2 separate regions of the Homo sapiens genome follow, and region 1 is linked to region 2. Evidence: promoter capture Hi-C in human tissues and cell types (Jung and others, 2019). All regions are on one chromosome and are shown on one strand. Each heading gives the region's core, a stretch centred on a gene start or on the middle of the fragment in contact. The rest is flanking DNA. Distances are from core to core; before and after follow the strand shown. Region 1 overlaps LOC105372437 (a long non-coding RNA gene). Region 2 holds the start of SHANK1 (SH3 and multiple ankyrin repeat domains 1).

Region 1 (4,190 bases), core at 1,490-3,989, 370 kb before region 2:
CACCCAGGCTGGAGTGCAGTGGTGCGATCTCAGCTCACTGCAAGCTCCACCTCCCGGGTTCATGCCATTTTCCTGCCTCAGCCTCCCGAGTAGCTGGGACTACAGGCACCCACCACCACATCCGGCTAATTTTTTTGTATTTTTAGTAGAGACGGGGTTTCACCGTGTTAGCCAGGATGGTCTCGATCTCCTGACCTCGTGATCCACATGTCTCTGCCTTCCAAAGTGCTGGGATTACACACGTGAGCCACCGCGTCTGGCCCAGATGATTTTTTATCACTCATTAACATGCTTTTCTTTCTGACTGAAGTACTCCCTTTAGCATTTCTTGTAGGACAGATCCGGTGTTGATGAAATTCCTCAGCTTTGTTTGTTCTGGGAGAGTCTTTATTTCTCCTTCATGCTTGAAGAATATTTTCACTGGATATGCTATTCTAGTGTAGCAGGACAAGCTGTGGAGAAAACCCCACAGACACCGAGATAGTGAAGGAAGTAGCTTTTAATCAGCTGGAAGCATCAGCAGACTAGCATCTTAAAATTCAAGCTTGTTGAGTGCACAATTTCTGTCGCTTTTAAGGGTTCACAACACTAAAGATTTTACATGAAAGGACCGTGATTGATTGAGCAATCTAGGGGGTATGTGACAGGGGCTGCATGCACCAGTAATCAGAGCAAAGCAGAACAGAACGAGAAGTTTCACAATGTCTTTCCATACAATGTCTGGAATTTATGGATAATCGGTTGCTAGGTCATGGGTTGAATTTTAACTATCAGGCTAAGGTCAGGCAGGCCCAGGCCTGGTTTTGGGTCTGGTTTTGGGTCTGGTGCATGGCGCCGGGCTGCCTGCCTTTGGTTTCGCTTCCTTGTTTCTTCTTAAAACAGGTACTGAGTATGAAACAATATAGAACAATATGGGGGGGTCTCTTTCTCTCTTCTCTCATTTCCCCGCTTTGAGACTCTCACTCATGGTATTAGTGGAAGTTCTCACTTTCATTTTTACTACTTATGTCTTCCTGTGCAATAGATTGATAGTGATTCAAATAATATACTCGTGCTGAAGCATTCTGGTGAACTAAGGTAGTGATGAAGCTTTTTATCATTTGAAGAAGTATAGGTAGCAAACAAGGGAGTAGTAAGCGGATTCCTATTACTATTATAACTCCTATTATAAGAGTTTTAAGCCCTCCTATTGCTGGGAACCAATTTCCAAACATGGCCTCAGGATCAAATCCGTGCCACACTCGCACTGTACATGTGCCAGTTTTGTTATATCTTTAACTATGTCTTCAACTACTTGCCCTTGATCATCTATGTGGAGACAGCAATTAGTAAGGTTAAATTTTCCACAAACTCCTCCTTCAGCTGCTAGCAAGTAGTCGAGAGCTAGTCTATTTTGGTAGATAGCATTCCTCATCTGAGTCTCTTGCCGGGCAAGAACAGTCAAGGCTTGACCAGTTTAATTAGTAATAATTTCTAAAACAGCTTGCAACTGTATGATTCAGTTGAGCATGTAGATGGGGGTCCAATATCCCTATGAGCCATCTTATGCCCAAGTGGCGGGCCCATAGTATTGTATAATTCTTTCAGGGGGCCATCATCATCTTTCCAGTTACCTATGGCTATGCTTCGTTTTTCACGGGAAGCATAGACAGGGAATCCTAAGAGTTTGTTGTTTTTATGGGCAGCAGGAAGAAAGATGGTTTAATAGTGCCAATTACACAGCTACCTGTCTACTGATCAGATAGCTTAGCATAAGCTCTATGTCCACATATCCAGTATAACCCAGTAGGGGCAGTCCAGTCCCAGTGGAATTCTGGGTGGGCCTAAACAGTCTGCAATTTTGGAAATTTACGGAATGGATTTTTTTCCGTGTAATTGGAACTCCACCATGTAACTGTTTTTGTGGTACCATTATACAGTTTTTGTCCAAGACAACTAACCTGTCCTACAGGATGAGTGAATTCTTTTCCTTCTCTAGCTATGCAACATTGTCCAATAATTGAGGCTTTTAGAACCCAGAAATTGTCAGGGTGGTTCTTTTGGGCCGAGAATTCATCAGGAACTGGGTCTGTAGGAACTCATTCTCGGGCTTCCCATGGCCACTGATCTCCTGTTACAGTTGCTCCACAAACAAAACACGAAGTGACTTTTAGAGACTGGGCTACATGCTCGGCTAACTGCAAAAACAAATGTCTAGTTTTTCCTGGAATTTCAGGCACTGGCACATTTTGTTCATCATAGAAAGTGTGAAATACTGGCTCTGGAGAGCATGTTCGAACCTCTCCTTTTATTAAAATGTTTACCCTAGGGTCTAGTCTTTTTCCATCAATGCCTAGAGATAAGTATTTTCCTTTTTTCTATTTTGGGTCTGAGGGGCTTGTGATTACTAATTTTAAAGGGTTGCAGCTTCCACTCATGCAGGACAGGCTTCCTTTCCCTTTTTGGAGCAAAACAGGATCTTTTTCATTTTTTTTTTCCCAAGTAGCCTAAATGACACAAGACCAGTACCCACATTCTTTTCCACACAATCCTGATTCATGACAGATGTACTTATTTTCGGTCATGTAGTTTTTTCCTAATTAAAAGAGCCACATCCTGCTCCTAACTTATTGCTATTAATGACAGCACAGCGTCAAATCTTAAGATTATGCATTTGGGCACCCCTTTTTCTTCTGTTCTGGCTAATACTTTACTTGTATCATTTATGAGTCCCTGCCAGTGTTCAGTCCTTAATCTTATTTCAAAAACTGTGGAAATGGGAGGTTCAGAGGGGTCATAGCACACATCGGGCTGGTCACTTCCTGGATCACAGACTTTGTACTGAGTGTTATTATACAAACATGTTCCTTTTGGAATTCCTAGGCCTTCATAATAACTATAGAACAAAAAGATTGTCTTAACTTGTTGTCCTACCTCAGTGACCTGAGGTATGCACTGAAAGCAGTCCTCTGTGTGGGAAGAAGCAGTGGAAGCTTTTACCACACAAGTCCGTGTTATAAGGAAAGTAAGTCCCACGACGATTTTCCTCATGCTTCGGCCGCGAATAGGCCAGTCAGCTTCCGGGTGTGACTGGAGCAGGGCTTGTCGTCCTCCTCAGGGTTACTTTGCAGGGATTGTCTAGGCCTGGTTTGGCCTCCCAGGTTCCAGTGGCTGCAGGCTTTCCGCAGCTGTGGTGAATCCCGGCCGGAATTCCTTCTACCTTCACAGCCGTGGGAGTGGTCAGGATAACGGTCTGGGGTCCCTTCCACTATGGCCCTAAGGGAGCTACGTTCCAGTCCTTGATCCACACGCGGTCACCTGGAGAAAAAGGGTGAACTGGGGAGAATAAGCTGACCGGGCACCTCATTTACCCAAGTTGAGATTGTCTCGGTAATTTTCCCCAAGGCCTGTAGCTGTCGCTGCAATTCAATTTCACCCAACTCTTGGGGAGTACCCAGAAGCCCTCGCGGCATAGGAGGAGGCCTATGATATAATATTTCATAAGGGGAGTGTCCTGTTTTCTTAGAGGGGGTGCACCTGTTTTAAACAATACCATAGGAAGGGCCTGTATCCATTTTAATCTTGTCTCTTGACATACTTTCCTTAAACTATTTTTGATAGTCCGACTCATTCGCTCCACCTTCCCAGAACTCTGAGGTCGGCAGGCAGCATGTAGACTTGTTTGTACCTGTCCTTCTTGGGAAGGCTTTCCAGGTATTCAAAAGGACTTGAGGATTGTGATCTAAGCCATATCTGTATCAGGGGGCCTCCCAAGCCTATTAATGCTGTGGTTTTTGTTTGTTTTGTTTTTTTGAGACAGAGTCTCACTCTGTCACCCAGGCTGGAGTGCAGTGTCATGATCTCAGCTCACGGCAACCTCTGCCTCTCAGGTTCAAGCGATTCTCATGCCTCAGCCTCCCAAGCAGCTGGGATTACAGCTGTGTGCCACCACGCCTGGCTAATCTTTGTGATTTTAGCAGAGACTAGGTTTCATCATGTTGGCCAGGCTGGTCTCAAACTCTGGGCCTCAAGTGATCCATTCACCTCAGCCTCCCAGAGTGTTGGGATTACAGGCGTGAGCCACCACACCCGGTCTGCTACGGTTCTTGCAGACTCATAGAGGTACTGCCTTAGTGGTCTTGGATAACATCCAGAAGAATTATCTGGATTACCAGGCAGAGGCTCTTGTTCTCTTCTTTTACTTTCTCCCA
Region 2 (3,674 bases), core at 493-2,992:
CTGCACCGTTGCCATGGAGATGGGAAGCAGTGGAGGGTACTGCTGACTTTGGGGGAGTGGGGATGGGCTGGGGGGTTGGGAAAGGGAAGACTAAATGTGTGTGGTGGGAGGAGAGTTCCAGGAGGTGTGGGCGAGCGAGCCTCTAACCCAGGGCCGGCGGACCCCTCCCCCACGCGCGGCAGCGCTGCGAAGCCCCCTCCCCCTCCAGGTACCCAGCCACGCCGCCCCACCTCGTCCCTGCGGAGACCCCGGCTGCCTCCTCCCTGCCCCGCCGCACAGCCCACCTCGCGATCTGGGGCCCGCAGACACTCCCCCTCGGCTGACCCTGGCTGACCCCCAGCCTCAACCCCGCTCGGAGGGGGTGGCCGGTGGGATGAAAGAAAAGCTGGCTAGGGCCCCCCGCGCGTACGGCTGCCCCAGCCCCCCCGGGCCGGCTCCGGCCCCTCCCCCTCAGGGCTCGCGGGAGGGAGCGGGCACGCTCCGCCGGGGCGGCATGAATCAAACGCTCCGCGGCTAAGAATAGCTGGCACGCAGCTGGTACCGAGACGGGCTGAGGAATCGGCGAGGGGGGTGGTGGAGGACGCGAGAGAGGGGGTGCCCTGGGAGGCTGTGGGGGGACAGGGGGCGGCTGGCGTGGCCGAGAGCGGGGCCGGGGAGAATGAATGGAGGCGGAGGGAGGCGGGGAGGGGCGGGGAGAGAGAGCCGGAGCCGAGGCTGGGAAACTGGTGGGGGAGAACCCGGCCGGGGAGAGGGGCGGGGGGCACCGGGGAGCAGGAGTCGGGGGCGGGAGCCGAGGGGGCGCGCCGGCCGGCGGTGTAGGGACTGGAGACCTGGTGGGGACGCAGGGAGCTTGGACAGGGGTGGAAAGGGACTGGAGGAGCCTGGAAGGAGAAGCGGGAGCTGGAGGGGTCGAAAGGGGCGGAGGAGGCCCGGGCCTAGACCCTCGCTGGAGGGGAGTGGGGACCAGGGTGACCTGGCGGAGGGGCCCAGGTACGCCAGGGAGGGCGAGGCGGGGGAGTGGCCGGGCTGGGCGGGGAGGCGGGTACCAGGACCGAGCCCTTGGCCCCGGAGAGCCGGGAGGCGGGTTCGGGATAGGGGCTCTGCTGGCCGGGGGTGGGGGGCGCGCCCTCCCATCAAGGATGCGATCTGGGACGGGGCACCGGGGACCCGGGCGTAACCCAATTTGGTGTCGCCCAGGGCAACGCTCCCCACCTCACCCGTACCCCCAGCCGCACACCCAGGCCAGGAGCCCGGCGCCGGGCCAAGGACATCCGGGGCGCCCTCGCCCCCTCCCGCGGCCCCGGCCCCGCAGCTGCCCCAAACCCCCAGGTTCTCGACCCCCTTACCTGCCTGGCGGGGCTGCTGAGTCCCGGTCGGCGGCGCCCGCGGCCCCTCCCCCCTCCCCCCACCCCCCACCCCCCCGGAGACGGGGACCCTCAGGCCATGCCCCACCGCCCCGGAGGGCGAGCGGGCCCGGGGAGGGGGCGGGCGGGGACCGGGGGGGAGGGCGGGAGGGCCGAGGACCTCACCCCCCCCGCGGGCCGGGCCTGGCCATCCGCAGAGCGCCCCCCCTTCCGCCGCGGCCGCCGCGCCCCTCCTCGCCCGCCCCCGGCTCGGTCCGGCCGGCTCCGGGCGCCGCGTCTCCGCCTGCTCTTCCTCCTCCTCTTCCTCGGGCCGCCGCCGCCGCCGCCCGCTCCGCGCCTCCTCTGCCACCCTTCTCGCTCTCTCGCTCTCGCTGTCTCTCCCTCACCCTGTCTCTCTCCCTCCCTCTCTCCCTCCCTCCCCTCCCTCCGCCCTCTCCCCTCCCTCCGGGAGCCGGCGGAGGAGACATCGCCCCTCCCCGCGCCCCCAAACCTCGCCCATCCCCCACCACCGCCGGCTCCGCCCCCTACCCTTGCCCTCCCCCACCACTCCTCCCCACCTCCGAGTCCCCAAATCCTGACTCCGCCCCTGCTTGCTCCCATACCCCGAGGAAGGGGTCCTGCCCCCATAAGGTGCCCCCCCACACACACCTCAGGACCACCCCCTCCCAGAGAGCTCCCCGCCGCCCTACACAGAGTGGGGCACAATAAATATTTGTTGCCAGACTCTACACCCCCAAATTTAAGTGTGAAGGCTATAGATTCCCACCCTGTCCCCCCAAACACACACACACCCTTTCCATTTAAGCACTGGGTCAGGGCACACGTGGACATACCTGGGCCAGGCCACATTTCCCCAAGGCACAGGTGCATAGTCACCAGCTGTAACGGCACCTGCAGAGTCCCCACATACACACACTCTCCAGCGCATGCATGCCCAGACACAATGCACCTGGGGTACACAGCTACAAACACACCCAGCTACATGCAGTTGTCACACCCCTGTGCCCGGGCACACACGCAGCACATGCACACATTTGCCCACCACACACGCACGTGCGCGCGCACACACGCACACAGGCGTTCACCCCGGTATGCATGCCCAGATCTCTCAACACCAAAACGGAGTTACAGCACTGTAGAGACGTGTGCACGCCTTCCCATCACACCCACCCACCGTGCTGTCCATTGCACTGGCTCGCACTCACCCGTTTACATGCCCAACACCGTGCCATCCTTCCCCTCCAGGATAGTTACTGCTGACATTCCTGGAGCACTTTCTGTGTGCCAGGCTCAGGGACTTTCGCCATCCCCATTTTCCAGAGGGGGAAACCAAGGAACAGAGAGGCTAAGTAACTTGCCCAAGGTCATCCAGCTGTAAGGAGGTGGTAACAAGGATCAGGAACAGGTAGGCTGGCTCCAAAGTCCTCACTTGACAACTATGGTGCACTACTGGGCATATCCCCTCATAGTTGCATATCCTTATTCATCACACACAGACACACCCAACCGTCTCCTCAGAGTTTGCACATGTCTGTGTAGGCACGCATATGCAGCCAGCTGCAGGCAGACAGCTCATTCATGCCTGGGACGCACCCACAGGGACAGAGCAGATCCCACAGGGCAGCAGTGAGTGGTGAGTGTCCCCTTAGCCCAGGCTTCCTCATTCTCCCAGCTCCAACAGCACCTCCAGGGCCTGCAGGGGGCAGTTCTAGGCAGCTTCTGGGTTCCCCTCCAGCTGCAGGCTCTCCGGGGTACCCGAGTATGAGCTGGAGGAGGTGCCTGCTCAGCCTGGGGAGGCCTCTATCTTGATGCGTACCCACTAGCCCAGGTGGTGAGCAGCTGGGCCCGGGGAAAGCACAGCTGCCCATGTTGGCTCCAGCAGCCAGAGAGGCTGTGCACCCCTGCACACTTTACAAGGCCTTTCCCCACATACGCATTATTTCTTGAGGTCTGTAGCTCCTGGTGAGGGGCCCCAGGTTCCCGATGGGCACCTGAGAGGCCCAGGCTCTGAGGCAGGGAGCAGTCTGCCCAAGGTCACAGTGCCCTCGATGTACCAGGATTTCTTGGAAAACGGAAGGCTGGAGGCACTGATTTCCAAGGCCCCTCCTGGGGCTCCCGGCAGCCGAGGGCAGATGCCCTGCTCTTGGAGCCAGAAACCTTGGCTAGCTGCCGCCACACTGGTGACCTCCAGCAGGCTATGCTGTTTCAGAGCCTCGGTCTCCTCCTTTGAAGAGCAGGCCCAGTGATCCTTGGCTGGTGTGCCCCATGCTTGTTGGCACCACCAGCCAGGCCTGGGCGGGAAAAGCCCTG

The links. Contacts are between HindIII fragments. The study calls those that stand out against the background at their distance.
Region 1: a fragment that was not itself captured here is called in contact with the fragment with the promoter of SHANK1 in region 2 in 1 of the 25 tissues and cell types used here (dorsolateral prefrontal cortex).

What each region holds. Positions count from the first base shown.
Region 1 is chr19:50,346,539-50,350,728 of GRCh38, forward strand. All of the region lies in intron 2 of LOC105372437 (a long non-coding RNA gene), which reads left to right. Among named protein-coding and RNA genes, the nearest start is that of NAPSA, 17 kb to the right of the region's middle. RefSeq lists an enhancer at 783-932. The HindIII fragment of the contact is 3,847 bases long and covers 817-4,190 here.
Region 2 is chr19:50,718,060-50,721,733 of GRCh38, forward strand. It overlaps SHANK1 (SH3 and multiple ankyrin repeat domains 1), which reads right to left and starts at 1,743. Exons shown (of 24, transcript NM_016148.5): 1 at 1,347-1,743. The HindIII fragment of the contact is 4,964 bases long and covers 1,016-3,674 here.